5 separate regions of the Homo sapiens genome follow, and regions 1, 3, 4 and 5 are each linked to region 2. Evidence: promoter capture Hi-C in 16 types of primary human blood cells and fetal thymus (Javierre and others, 2016). All regions are on one chromosome and are shown on one strand. The core of a region is centred on a gene start or on the middle of the fragment in contact, and the rest is flanking DNA. Distances in the headings are between cores, read along the strand shown.

Region 1 (2,748 bases), core at 40-2,539, 410 kb after region 2:
GTGAGGAAGAAGAGGGTGAGGAGCGTGAGGAAGAAGAGGGTGAAGAGGGTGAGGAAGAAGAGGGTGAGGAGCGTGAGGAAGAAGAGGGTGAAGAGGGTGAGGAAGAAGAGGGTGAGGAGCGTGAGGAAAAAGTTCGGTGGGGGGAAGGTGAGGAAGAAGGCAGTGGGTGAGGAAGAAGGGGGTGAGGAGGGTGAGGAAGGTGGGGAAGAAGAGGGTAAGGAGGGTGGGGAAGAAGAGGGTGAGGAAGGTGGGGAAAAGGACAGTGCGGCGGGGGGAAGGTGAGGAAGGAGGCAGTGAGTGGGGAAGAAGGCGGGGAAGAAGATGGGCAGAAGGTGGGGCATAAGTCAGTGCGGGGGAGGGGCAGGAGGGAGGGAGAAGATGTGGTGTGGAAAGGTGTGAAAACAGATAGTGGGGAAGGCAGGGAAGCAGACGGTGTTGGGGGAAGGCAGGGAAGACGAATGTGAGCGGGGTGGGATAGATGGCACATGCTTTAACCAAGATAAGAGGGGGCCTTGGCCCTGGGCCCCATGCTTTAGAAAGACTTGCTTTTTTTCAGCCCTCCTCAAGCTTTAGTCCTTCCCACAGGCCAAAGATTCTGTAGGATCTTCTAGAACACACACCAGGACACCGGGAGCTCTGAGATTTCCTACCCAAATGGCTCCAAAACTGCTTCCAGGGGAGTCCTGCTGAGAGACGACCTTGCCACCAAGATATATGCCGCTAGGTGTGTGGGATGGCCAAGGGGGTGTTGGGTGGACACATAGGTACAGAGCTTGGATATGCAAGCTGCCCTATCCACACACATGCACCCCAGGTCCCCAAAGGGGTGGAATGGAGCCAGCTTGCCCGTTCCTCCACTGCATGGAGAGGAATGCGGAGGAATCTAAGAGGTGATCAAACGCCAGCTATGGAGAGAGATGCAGAGGAAAGCGAAGACATATGCACTGGCATTTGTAGAAGGGCCTGGATGGGGGTGAGGAGCACACGGAAAATGGTCTGAGGCCATCTATGCAGTTCCTGAAGAAGCACCTCGGGCAGCTACTGACACTCCCAGCCCAGCTCTACAGGGGTGGGTACATGGGTGGGCTGGGAACAGGGTGTCTGTCCAACAGGCGGGTGTTGAGGGCCCAGAAGATGTCAGGGTAGCAACAGGAGGAATCTGGTGCAGTATGAGCACACGGCCGTCAGCTGATAGTGGGAAGCCAGTCAAGTGCCGCGAAAGCAGGAGGCGGGGCCGCGGCCAACGTCATTCCCGCGGCCGCACGTCACCGCCACTTGCCGCATCCGCAAGATCTCTCTGGACCAGCTCGGGTGCAGGGCCTCTGCGGGAGCCCTCCTAGACCTCTGCGGCTTCTCCTCTAACATGGCCGACTCGGAAAACCAGGGGCCTGCGGAGCCTAGCCAGGCGGCGGCAGCGGCGGAGGCAGCGGCAGAGGAGGTAATGGCGGAAGGCGGTGCGCAGGGTGGAGACTGTGACAGCGCGGCTGGTGACCCTGACAGCGCGGCTGGTCAGATGGCTGAGGAGCCCCAGACCCCTGCAGAGAATGCCCCAAAGCCGAAAAATGACTTTATCGAGAGCCTGCCTAATTCGGTGAAATGCCGAGTCCTGGCCCTCAAAAAGCTGCAGAAGCGATGCGATAAGATAGAAGCCAAATTTGATAAGGAATTTCAGGCTCTGGAAAAAAAGTATAATGACATCTATAAGCCCCTACTCGCCAAGATCCAAGAGCTCACCGGCGAGATGGAGGGGTGTGCATGGACCTTGGAGGGGGAGGAGGAGGAGGAAGAGGAGTACGAGGATGACGAGGAGGAGGGGGAAGACGAGGAGGAGGAGGAGGCTGCGGCAGAGGCTGCCGCGGGGGCCAAACATGACGATGCCCACGCCGAGATGCCTGATGACGCCAAGAAGTAAGGGGGGCAGAGATGGATGAAGAGAAAGCCCACGAAGAAAAAAGCCTGGTTTTGTTTTTCCCAGAATATCGATGGACTTAAAAAGGCTCAGGTTTTTGACCAAAATACAATGTGAATTTATTCTGACATTCCTAAAATAGATTAAATTAAAGCAATTAGATCCTGGCCAGCTCGATTCAAATTTGACTTTCATTTTGAACATAATAAATATATCAAAAGGTGTTAAAGAAAACTGAATTAAACCCAAAATTATGTTTTCATGGTCTCTTCTCTGAGGATTGAGGTTTACAAAGGGTGTTAGCAGATGCGAAGTAAAGAACGTCACTTTGAAACCCATTCATCACACAGCATACGCTACACATGGAACACCCAAGCCATGACTGAACACGTTCTCAGTGCTTAATTCTTAAATTTCTTTACTCATGACATTTCGCAGTGCAGAGAAGGCAGAACCCAAGAAAAACGTCATCTTTGAGACTTTGCTTTTGTAACGCAGACATCAGCTTTACACTTCACAGGAGATTGATGGCATTGAGGAAGATTGCAATGGAGATCATGACACTACTGTTAATAAGGCCAGGAAAACTGCCATTTCAAGTTCTGAAAAATGTTTTGAGTATTTGAATTTAGAGAAACAACATGGTTCCAAGAAGGAGGGTGTAAAACCTGTAAAATACTGTCAACATATGTATTCATTAGTTACAATCTCATGTTTGTGTTTTCTTAGTACTGTCTATTTACAAACACGTAAAAAATACCCCAAATATGTTTAAGTATTAAATCACTTTACCTAGCGTTTTAGAAATATTAATTTACTTGAAGAGATGTAGAATGTAG
Region 2 (2,700 bases), core at 112-2,611:
AGTTCGTAAGATTCCTCCTCTCACTTCTAGGGCCTAGATGGATAGTGACCAATTTCCTGACAAGGTCTACGTGAATCTACTTGCTATTTTAAAACTTACAAACTTCCTACAACAAAGCCTAGCGCCAATTAACTCTTATCTTCTATCTTTCTTCCTCCTCAGGGTTCAGGGTCTTTCATGAAGTGCAATCACACTAGAGGCTAGAAACTGTACTGGTAAGGCTTCTAAAACAGTACTATTGCATACTCAATTCTTGCCATCCTTGCAGGTAATGTTCTTTGCCAGAATAGCCACTAAATCTCAGGTGGAAGTATTTTAGGAAATGTGCTAGGGAGTAAACAGTTTAAGTCAAGAGAGGACTTGCAAACTTGACATACAGGAAAATACAATGGGAAAACTCACCCTCTGACTATGTGGTCTTTGTCAAGCAGTGGATTGTATGGAATGCTGTCTCTCTAGGCACGGACTCTGCTATAGGTTGCGCAAGTGAGTGCTTGTGGAAATCATACGCAAGAGAAGATGACCCGGACAGAAGTGAACAGTGCAAATAAGGTGAAAGTGGAACAGGCAGAAAACTCTACTTTAAAAGCGACTTAAACCTACTAGATTTGGCAGCTGGAAAGGAGGATAGTGGACATGTGATGTCACATTACTAAAGAAAGCATCAAAAAAACTGCATCGGTGGAAATGAGGACCCAAGGTAGAGGCTATGGGGTGGCAGGCTCGGTGAAGATGATGTTACAATAATCCTGGTGAAAGACGATCCTCGATGGACCAACAGAAGCAGTTCCTGTGGGGGCTGTAGAGATACTCGGAGGCTCCGAAACCTAAAGGAAAATACCAAAAACATTTTCTTTCAATTCAACATCAGGATCTGTGGCATTATCCACATTTATCCTGCAACTATGTTGAGAAAATTAACGCCTCCTATCAATGTGATAGCTAAATACGACAAATAATGCTTTCAGGCATAATCTGGGGTGACAGAGAGAGGGACCTGAAGAGCCTACCTCCTGAAATTAAGAGGTCAGGGAGAAGCCGTGTTAGCGAGGGCCTCTCCCCGCTGGGCGAGCTTCAGAGCGCGGGACGTCTTTCCTCCCGCGGAGGGAGCCCGGATTCCGCCTGGACGCCGGCGACCAGGATGTCACTGCTGCAGCCAGCCAGCCAGCGGGCGGCCGCTTGGCACAGGGAACGCCAGTCCGCCGGCCCCGGGCATCGCCCTGGGACCGCCTGCGCGGCGCCCAGACCACACTAAGCGCAAATGGAGTCTCCTGAGGCAGGCTGGCACTGGTGGCCCGGCAGCGGCGAGGGACGAGCGGAGAGGGACGAGCGTCGCCGCCGGAGCCGGAAGGCGGGGGATTAGAGAGCACGCGCGCGCCCCCGCAGAACGTTGTGCCGGCGAGGGGGCGGGGCCTGCGCGGGTGAGCGCACGCGGCCCGGGGGAGGGGACTCCGGCGAGCGGGCGGGAGGGGCGGGGGCCCGGCAGGGGTGCGTCTCTAGGCGCTGCGTGGGTTCCACTCACCGCCTGGCCGTTTCGGGGCCGCAGTGCCTCCCTGGCCGGCAGGGGGAGGCACACGCTCGCCTTGTCCTGGCGCTTTTCCCAGTGGCCCGGCTCTGCCGACGAGGCTCTTTTCTCCCTAGGGGGAAATTTTAAAATCTCACCCCCCCAGTGCTGGGGGGAAAGCGGAGGATCCTCGCGTGCCGGGAGCGGGCTGCGAATGGGGCAGGGCGAGCGCACGTGGGGCGTGTTTACAAACAGCAGCCGCGCCGCCTTGCGGAGGCGGTCCAGGTGTCGGAGCCCAGAGTCAGCGCGCGTGGAAAGTGCTAGCCCGAGCGAGGATCATGAGGCACGGTAGGAGCCGGCGGACGTGGGTTCCGGGCAGGAGCTGGGGCGTTCGCTCGGCAACACCCAGCCGGACAAGCCCAGGGTGCCGAGGCGCGGCGGGCTGCGGTAGAGCCGAGTGTCGGGTCAGCGCTCCCCGGTGCTGATGCTCCGAAACTCGTCACAGTCGCTGTAGAGACGGACCCTTTGCAAAATCGACAGCACCTGGGAGACCCTTGAGCCAGTGGGAGGCGTCGTGGTAAATTTCCTGCCGTGCCTCGACGCCCGGGGCTTCTCAAGTGGAATCGGGGAATTGCGCTTTGACTGATACTCCCTTTATTTGTTTCCAACGGAGACATCTGCGGAAGGGTCACCGCCTTCCTGGAGGAGAGAGTGGTGCACCTCCACCTTGCACCACCTGTTTCCTGGGAAACGCGGTCAGGCTGCCTTCCTTTCCGTCTTGTGTGTGCGTGTCAGTTTGAAAAATTGGAAATTCTTCAGTGAATTATCTCTTCCATATGAACATAAATGTAACCTTTTCGTTAACACAAAGTAACATAGTAATTCGTCATTTCTTTGACAAGGCCATATACTGTTTCTGGAATTTCAGAAACTTGGAGATGGAAATCAAAGCGAGCATACTGTAGAAAACAGATGTTGATTCTAAGCCTTCTGTTTGACTCCGCCGCCAAAACTGCTCAATTGCCTTTCTCAACATAGCAGCCTTCCACTATCTGGCATGACAGAAATTCTTTGATCTAGTTATGTTGTGAGGTTGTAAGTGGCTTTTGGAGAATACCTGCTTTTAGACCTCCCCTCTTCCCTGCCTTCCATTTGGCTTCCAACAAGCCAGTCCCTTTCTGGAAGTCCTGGTTGCC
Region 3 (2,754 bases), core at 198-2,697, 280 kb after region 2:
TTCTTTGGTTGTTTTCACTTGATGTTGAAATTAAAAGAAACACAGCCACATGGTTTTTGTTGCTCTTGATAGGACAAGAGCAAATGCAGATATTGCCAAACACTTGGAATTTGCTGAAGAAGTTATGTAAGAAAATTAGAAATCTGCAAGCCAGCTAAAACGTGTAAAAGGAAATTGACAACCTAGGAGAAACTGGATAATGTAGAATGCTTAAAAGATTTCAGAAGTTTTGGATAGAATCTTACTTTTAGCACATCTGTGATTGCACATCAATATATAACCCAGGTAGTTTATTCCTTAAGCCAGTTATTTGTTAGTATTATTTTTCATTTGAACCTACATGTGGCATCCAGTTTATCTTATGTGTAGCCCTACAGTAGAAAGTGTTAAAAAGTGGGTAGAATATTGCTTGATAAGTTTAAATCTAATAAAAGGAGCTATACTTCAGAATCTATAGAAGAGTAATTGATGTATCCATTAATTCATTCTGCACTTATTGAGTGTTCTGTGTCAGGGCTGCAGGAAAGATACAGTTCCTGTTGTGGAAAATTTTCATTCCAAAAGGAAGATAATATATACAGCAGATTCAAATAATAATAAAACTGTACAGGAAAAAAAGATAAAAATCATCATCGATACAAAGGGCTGTATGACTTTAAAAGGTCAAGAGATTTCTTTGGCCAAACATAGTGGCTCACATCTGTAATCCCAACACTTTGAGAGGCCAAGGTGAGAAGACTGCTTGAGCCCAGGAGTTCAAGACCAGCCTGGGCAACATAGTAAGAACCTCATCTCTACAAAAAATAAATTATCCAGGCATTTTAGCATGCGCCTGTGGTCTCAGCTACTCAGGAGGCTGAGGTGGGAGGCACACTTGAGCCCAGGAGGTAAAGGCTGCAGTGAGTTGTGATGGTGCCTGCCATTACACTCCAGCCTGGACAACAGAGAGAGACCCTGTCTCAAAAACAAACAAACAAAAAAACATTTCTTTCAATTAGCCTAGACCTAAAGTATAGGTAGGATTTTTCCTGAAGGGAATGAAATGGGAAAATATTCCAGACAGAGGGAACAGCATGAGCAAATATTTAGGATAGAAAAGTTCAGGGCAGATTTGAAAATAGTGACCCAGGCATATCTGGAGTTGTTTCCTCAGGGGAGGTTTAAGCAACTGAACTGGAGAGGCAAATTGGGGTTAATAGGTGGAATGTTCTAATCATCACATTAAAAGGATTGGGGTTCATGTAAGAGGTAGTTGGGAGCTATTGAAGTTTTTGAGTACAAAAATGAGTTACCAAATCGCAAGCATGGTAGGATGTTGACTAATAGTGGAATGTGTGCTATGGTGGCAGAAAGAATATTTTGAACGTTATCCTAAGAGTACAGATAACCTAGGCAGATTGATTAAAGAAACATGACAGGTCAATCAATAGATTTGGTTGAGGGTAGGAGAGGAGAGGGAGGAGTAAAGATGACTCATGGTTTAAATCTGATTCACAAAGGGAATAATTACATCATTATCAAGAAGGGCCAGGAGGAAGAGAAATTTGGAGATCAGATAATATGAAGTCTTGAATGTTTGATTGGGTTGATAATACTAATAATTATTGAGCACTTAACTATTTGCCAGGCACTATTCTATATATTTTACATGCATGGCCTCATTTATTCCTCAGAGCAGCCTCAGAGCTTTTAAACAACCTGCCCAAGTTTGCACTGCCTGTCAGGGGTGAAGTCAGGATCCAGCCCCCAGAGGTGTAATTGCAGCGCCCAATTTATTGAATGCGTGTATTGAATGGTGTTGGGCTTGGAGGCAGGGCTAAACGAGGAGGAAAGACAGATGAAATCAAAGGCGAATGTTGATCAAGAAGGTTTGGTGAATTCCCAAGAAAGATCACAGAGAACCAAAGACTTTCAGAAAACTGAAGGTGAGTGTTTCAGAAAAGTCAAGAGTAGGAGAGGATCTAAGAAAAGGCATTTGGATTTAGTGGTCAAAAGACCCTAAAAGCAGTTTTGGAAAAGTGGTAAAGGTCGAAGTCCATTGGCATGGGATGGAGGAATAAGTAATTTATGAGGAAGTGGAGGCAGCAGAGATAGATTTGGGGGAAGTCTGTAAGTGGGGAAGGAAGAGGGAAATAGCTCTGCAGCACCAGAGGGTAGGACTGCTGAGAAGCACTTTCTAATACTGAGGGACACTCACTTGGTTGCCTGTCAGAAGGGAGGAGAAGCAAGTAGCGAGGGGCAGATTCAAGATGTAGGAGAGACCAGGCTTCTTCCAGAGGAAGGAGAAAATGATGAGATCCAATACACAGATAAGAGGCTTGAGACCTATATGTGAGGACCCTTTCTCCTAAACCAAGAGGACGTCATAAAGAGTGAGGCAAGATGTGTGCTGGAGTGGGAACAGGAGTGGTAGGTGGAGCAGAGAAGACCAAAGGCACTCGCTTATATTTGATGATCTTGATTTTCTCAGTCAATTGGCAGGTGAAATAATTAGTGAGTGAGAGAGGTTCTGTTTTGTGGCACTGGAGAAGATTTGAAGCGGGAATGCAGTGAACAGTCAAAGATAATAAAAAAGGTTGTAACACAGTATTGTGGTTCAAACTAAGTTTAAGTATTACGAATTTTTAGTATAACTAGTTACCAAGTTATGAGATTTTCTTTTGCAATCGTTAGCACTCTGGCAATAGACAGCCCAGATGGCAGGACTTATAAAGGGGGAAGAAGTGGAAGATGCTAGGGAACCCATTTTAGAAA
Region 4 (2,700 bases), core at 78-2,577, 300 kb after region 2:
GACTGAGACTGTGGATAAATTGAAAATGCTCAAGTACATGTGTTGCACTTTATGTTTTGAGAACAAGGAAGGAAAGGAAAATGTGCTAACTTCACTTATCATTCTCTAAGAAAATTCCTCCCCTTACATTTGTAGCACATGTGGAAAATGCCTGAGTTCCTGAAAAAATGTTTACTTTATACTTTTCTTTTGTTTCTTTATACTTGTCCCTCACTTTCTCTTTTGCTCCTTGTTTTGTTTTTTAAGCCTCATGGATGGTTTTTCTAGTTTCTTCAATGAATGGGACCGAATTCTTAGCATTTACTTGTTTTTCTGTACTTTTCAGTATTCAAGGAACACTTACAAACTATTTCTTCTGTCTCAAACCACTTAGAAATATATTTAAAGTGTGTGGCTAAATATGCAAATTATGTTAATTTTCTGGTAGCCAGCCACATTAACCAATTAGAAAGTTGAAGTAATTGGAGAGTTAAAAAGGGAATGGAATGGAATGGTGGTTTGATCGAGTAATTGAAGATCCATTCTGGGTACTTGCCCTGGGAATTCTCCCAACATTATTTGGTTTTTCTTAGACATATACAACACTATGCCTTTCATGATTTCCTTTAGCTTGCTGTATAATTAAACTGATAGGCATTGCACTGCATTCTGTGGCTTCAGTTTAGAAATTAGGGTAACTCATGAAGAGATTATCAGTCTAGGTGTCATTTATTTATGTGCATTAACCAATGTCAAGCTGTATAAAAAATAAGTTAGACAGGACTCTGCTAAAACGTAGATAAAAATATCTAAGTTATTGGCATTCTTAGTTGTAGCTTCTTAGATTTAGACTGTTATTTAGGTCTATATGATAAATGTTCTTCCTACAAGCAGTTATTTTGAGAATATAGTACCATGTATCTGAGAACATTAAGCATAATCACATAAATGAGGTGATTGCCCAAATCTCTCAATGTATGTTTGATTTTTTTTTTTAAGTAAACTACTTATAATTGGCTGCTTAAGCTTGGTCATTATTGAGAGTCAGCAAATAGGAAATAATTAAAACACGGAGTTTTTACTGGTAACCAAGGAGGAAATCGAATGAATTCTAAGTTGTTTCAATTTGTCATTGGTTTAATTTCATGACACACACTTCCTTCTTCATTCACAGAACATGTGCTTATTTTTAAAAATTAAAAGTGAATCAGAATTAATTCTCAATTTCATCTTTAGGAAAAAATTATGACAAATTATGCTCAAGTTAGAGTTTAGGCAAAATCCTTTAGTATCATTGAACATGACAGATTGACACGAAAACAGAAATAGGTGTAAATGATCTTTGTTAAAGATGTTTTGGAGCCTGTAGTAATAGTACAATATCTTTGTACAGCTGTATAAAAATGGTAATTTTTTCAAATGTGCATTCTGGTTTGTGCATTTTGTGGAAAAGTTTATTTTGTTGATTTTATTTGGAAGAATTGTCCGTGGCCATTTTTCCTTAAAATTACCTTCGAAGTCAATGCATTAAATTTATTTCTAAAATTAGTTGGCTTAATCAATTTGAAATCAATGATTTAGTTGTCTCAAAATTTATGCCTTTGTTTAGATTGTATTACTAAATCCCAGAAAAGGGTACTTTTATGAAAGGGAAAATAGAAATAAGCTTTTAAAATAAAAATTGATTTATTTACCCTCATTTTCTTTCCAAATTATATTGTTTTTCTCAGGGACTGTGCATGGATTGCTCCACTGTTAACTGCTGATTGTTGACTAAATGTAATACTGACTCTGCTTTATTTTACTTAAATTTCAGTGCTTACATTTTCTTTTTTAGAACAAAAACTGGTCAAAATTCAGGGGCATAGCCAAATTAAGAATTTCTTATTTTGTCTTTCATTGATGAATTTACTTTGTGCAAATGCAGGCCAGATAAAATATTTGCTTATGATTAAAATCTTGTGTTTCTATCAAGAGACATTCTTGACATCGTGCCAGTATATTTTAATAAATTAATCACCTTATAAGTGCTGTCAGGCATAATGCATTATGGATGGACTTTGACTAAGGTGATGTAGAGTTGCCATAATCAGAAGCATGACAAGGAGCTTATCAAGTCCACGAGATCTTGTTGTGGCTGCTGGAATGCAGACTGGCCATCGAATGCATTTTCTTCACTAACCTAGTCATCTCGCTGTACTTTAGTAAGTTAAAAATCAAGGGAAAACAATAAGTAAGAAAAATGAACTAACATGTAATACAGTAATTTACACATCACTAGCTGCATCATCTGAATGAGTTATGTACTCACTCTGAGACTGCTTTTCTCACCAGAATTAAGGAGCAAGAAGCCAGAACCAGGGAAGTTTTGTGAGTATCTAATTGAGATAATTAATGTAGGACCTGTGGTAGGATCTGGCCCGCAGTCATAATTGATATGAAATTTGTGAGGGAGATGAAAGGAAAAAAGTATTGCTTCTGTTTGCTGCAGAGAAATTTAGCACACAGACACACACAAATAGCTAAGACACATAAACAGCTGTGTTCAGAGCCCTGAACCATTTAAATCATCTCTCAAAAGCACTTAAGAAAATCAAGCATATTGCTAATTGAATGCACATCAAAGAATGTTACAGTAACCATGTTAATTTTCCTTCAGTTTGCTACATGTTAGAGTAAAGGATCTGTTCTGGGCAAAGAAAGTATGTAGTACTAATTTTA
Region 5 (2,700 bases), core at 119-2,618, 500 kb after region 2:
AGAGGGAAACTAACTCAGGAGAAAGTAAAAGGAACCAATCACAGAGATGAATCAAATAGAGTTGCACAGAAATGTTAGAGCTTGCTTATAAATTGTTACCCTTGGGCTCTGCTATAAGAAGATTTCCTGGTATGTCTACAGAGAATTTTAAAATTTAGCAGAGTCAAATTAGATTACACTAAATAACTGCCCCTACCACGGTTCTTGTCTATTCAAGATAGGGAGAAAGATTAGAAGACACTTATGTAAGTTCAGATATCCCTAATAACACAGAGATTAGCTTACCCTAAAATCCCAATATTAGAAATCAGAGTATGTATGAGGAAAGGAGAACTATTCATTTAGCTGAAGAGTACTGTTTACAATGTGGCTAGGTAGGAATATGAGAGGCATGGTAAATTAAGGTATTTATTGAATCCTTTCTATGGACAACCAGTCTCTAGTTTAATAAAAGAGCTCAAGATTTACTTAATGTCCACTTAGTCACTTATAAAAAATAACATTCAGGAAAAAAAAGCTTATGTTTTGTTTGCTTGCTTTATTAAAAAAAAAGTGGGGAAGGCACACAAGACTTCCTAAAATGCCAGCTCTGTAACTTTATGTCTTAGAAAATTATAAAATAAATTCATGGACAAAAACCATAAGGAAATTAGTAATAACCCTATGATGACTCCAATCACAAAAACTCTGTCTGCTTTGTCGGGGAGGGATGAGGTATATGTCTGAATGCAAAGGTGAGAATGAAGGAGAGAAAAGTCATGTGAGAGAGGAATGTGCAAAAGACTTATAATCCAATACTTTTTTTTAAAGCTGGAAATTGAGTTTAGATGGGGCTTAATATACTACATCTGAAAAATGCTTCTGGGAATCACAGGCCTCTATGCCCTTGGCCAAATCACAAATGAGTCATGGACACACCTAAGCTAGAACTCTGTGTGCTGCCTGACACACTGGGAAAATATCTGGGGCCTGAATAACCAGGAGTTTCAGAATTTGATGTATCTTTGAAATGCCTCCTTCTTACCACACACACACACACACACACACACACACACACACACAGTTGGTCACATAAGGGTATTGCTAATGTGAGAAGTACAGAAATGAGAGTACAAAGAAACCACAGTAGTCTCAGGGTCAGCAACAGCAATAGTTAACTGTTACATATTCTTAAGAAGGAAAAAAAGGATCTCCAAAACCCTTAGAATCACTGAGAGGTGCTTTATATCACTGCTCTGGCACATCTACAGAATGCATCCCAAAAAAATGAATTGATGTGCCTTGCAGCTGAACCAGTTAGAGACAGAGTGTATAACATGGTATATGATGACTAGCAGGACAGAATCAAGGCACACATTAGAAGACTTGTCCAGGTGCATCTCCTACACCAGTACCTTCTTTCAACTTTCCTTCCCCTCAGGAAGGTCAGATTATGTGGCTCCCAGGGTTGTTTGCATTTTAACAGGAAACAAAGTTTCAAGGCAATGAAATAAATTCTCCTCCAGACTAGTGCTAGATGACCATACCCATGCTGGTGGACACCCTGCTAGGACTAGAAATATTAACAAGTCCAATCAGCAAAGTAAGTGTTGATGGTCAGGCATTACTCCATTCACAGCCAGTACTGCAAAGCAAGAAAAAGAAACTTAAGTTTGCCACTTGGGTTCAAAACTCTGTAAGCCACTTGGAGTTGGCCACCATGGAATTAACTCCTTCAACTCACTTCTTCACACTCTCAAAGCCTTAGAGGAACAGTCATACACTCACTTTTTAAAATCCTTCATATTTCAAAGTCAACCAATCTGGGCAATGATACCAAGCTGAAATCACAGACCTGCCCATAACCCCCAGAAAAATCCTCTTTTAAGGAAGGGGCCTTCCATCATGTTCCCTTCCCAAATACCACAGAAGCTACTTGGGGGTAGCATTCCTGTGGGCCAAGACCAACAGATACCTGTAACAAACTAGGCCTGCCACAGACTTCCCTTCCATGTCTAGCAGCTCTCCAGGTCATGGTTCTCAATAAGCAAACACAGAAAACAAGTTCATTCTCTTCTTCCCACTCATTAAAAACAAACGCAAATCATATCCAGATTTAGAACACACCTACCAACGAAAAAGTTAAATGGAGAGAGGGAGGCACCCACCCACATAATCTTTCCATTCAAAGAGGCATTATTCCAAGCTGCTATGGAGTTTATAATTAACAGACAAGCTTAACCAACAACAGAAATTTCTGGAATCTCTTGTAATTTACACTACAGCCTGCCTTATTCCAAATTTAGATCACAAGCATGGGCTGGATTCCGAGGCTGAATCCCAAAGCCTTCTTGGCACACCTCTAGCTTGGGATTCTTGCAGTCACTCAGCCCTGTGGGGAGGGCGTCTGCAGGATGACTGAGGGCCAGCTGACCCAGTATGCAGACAGACGCAGTGCGGCTGCTTTGCCAGAGCTCACTCACATCCAGAGGCCCAGCAACACCTACCATTAGCTCCTTGGAGCTGCATCAGGAGGCTGTGCTAGAGAAATGTCTCGTTGCACTCAGATGTATTCATTATGATGCCTTCTACAGATCTTTGCTATCATTGTTCTGCGAGGTTTTTGCTTCCTTTCCCAGCTGCTACCCCAGGGTGAATCCTCTCCCCCAAGTTCCAAGACCAAGGTGTGCACTGAGGCATATCTGAGCAACTGACTCTGCA

Evidence for each region. The method cuts DNA at HindIII sites, captures the fragments that hold promoters and counts their contacts. A CHiCAGO score of 5 or more calls a contact.
Region 1: the fragment with the promoter of NAP1L5 here is called in contact with the fragment with the promoter of TIGD2 in region 2 in 1 of 17 cell types (megakaryocytes); the score reaches 5.8 in megakaryocytes.
Region 3: a fragment that was not itself captured here is called in contact with the fragment with the promoter of TIGD2 in region 2 in 1 of 17 cell types (fetal thymus); the score reaches 5.4 in fetal thymus.
Region 4: a contact is called between a fragment that was not itself captured here and the fragment with the promoter of TIGD2 in region 2, in 2 of 17 cell types (megakaryocytes and naive CD4 T cells). The highest score is 6.1, in megakaryocytes.
Region 5: a fragment that was not itself captured here is called in contact with the fragment with the promoter of TIGD2 in region 2 in 1 of 17 cell types (naive B cells); the score reaches 5.2 in naive B cells.

Annotation. Positions count from the first base shown.
Region 1 is chr4:88,696,370-88,699,117 of GRCh38, reverse strand. NAP1L5 (nucleosome assembly protein 1 like 5) reads left to right here and starts at 1,289. Exons shown (of 1, transcript NM_153757.4): 1 at 1,289-2,748. The coding sequence starts at 1,364. The coding sequence ends at 1,912. All of the region lies in intron 23 of HERC3 (HECT and RLD domain containing E3 ubiquitin protein ligase 3), which reads right to left. RefSeq lists an enhancer at 1,140-1,199. The HindIII fragment of the contact is 2,584 bases long and covers 570-2,748 here.
Region 2 is chr4:89,110,194-89,112,893 of GRCh38, reverse strand. It overlaps TIGD2 (tigger transposable element derived 2), which reads right to left and starts at 1,361. Exons shown (of 2, transcript NM_145715.3): 1 at 1,011-1,361; 2 at 1-827. RefSeq lists a silencer at 1,104-1,553 and enhancers at 1,634-1,713, 1,744-1,853. The HindIII fragment of the contact is 10,355 bases long and covers 1-2,700 here.
Region 3 is chr4:88,826,362-88,829,115 of GRCh38, reverse strand. The region is part of intron 7 of FAM13A (family with sequence similarity 13 member A); the gene reads left to right. Among named protein-coding and RNA genes, the nearest start is that of FAM13A-AS1, 120 kb to the right of the region's middle. The HindIII fragment of the contact is 5,356 bases long and covers 1-2,754 here.
Region 4 is chr4:88,807,056-88,809,755 of GRCh38, reverse strand. The region is part of intron 7 of FAM13A (family with sequence similarity 13 member A); the gene reads left to right. Among named protein-coding and RNA genes, the nearest start is that of FAM13A-AS1, 99 kb to the right of the region's middle. The HindIII fragment of the contact is 640 bases long and covers 1,008-1,647 here.
Region 5 is chr4:88,610,652-88,613,351 of GRCh38, reverse strand. The region is part of intron 3 of HERC3 (HECT and RLD domain containing E3 ubiquitin protein ligase 3); the gene reads right to left. Among named protein-coding and RNA genes, the nearest start is that of HERC3, 20 kb to the right of the region's middle. The HindIII fragment of the contact is 1,698 bases long and covers 520-2,217 here.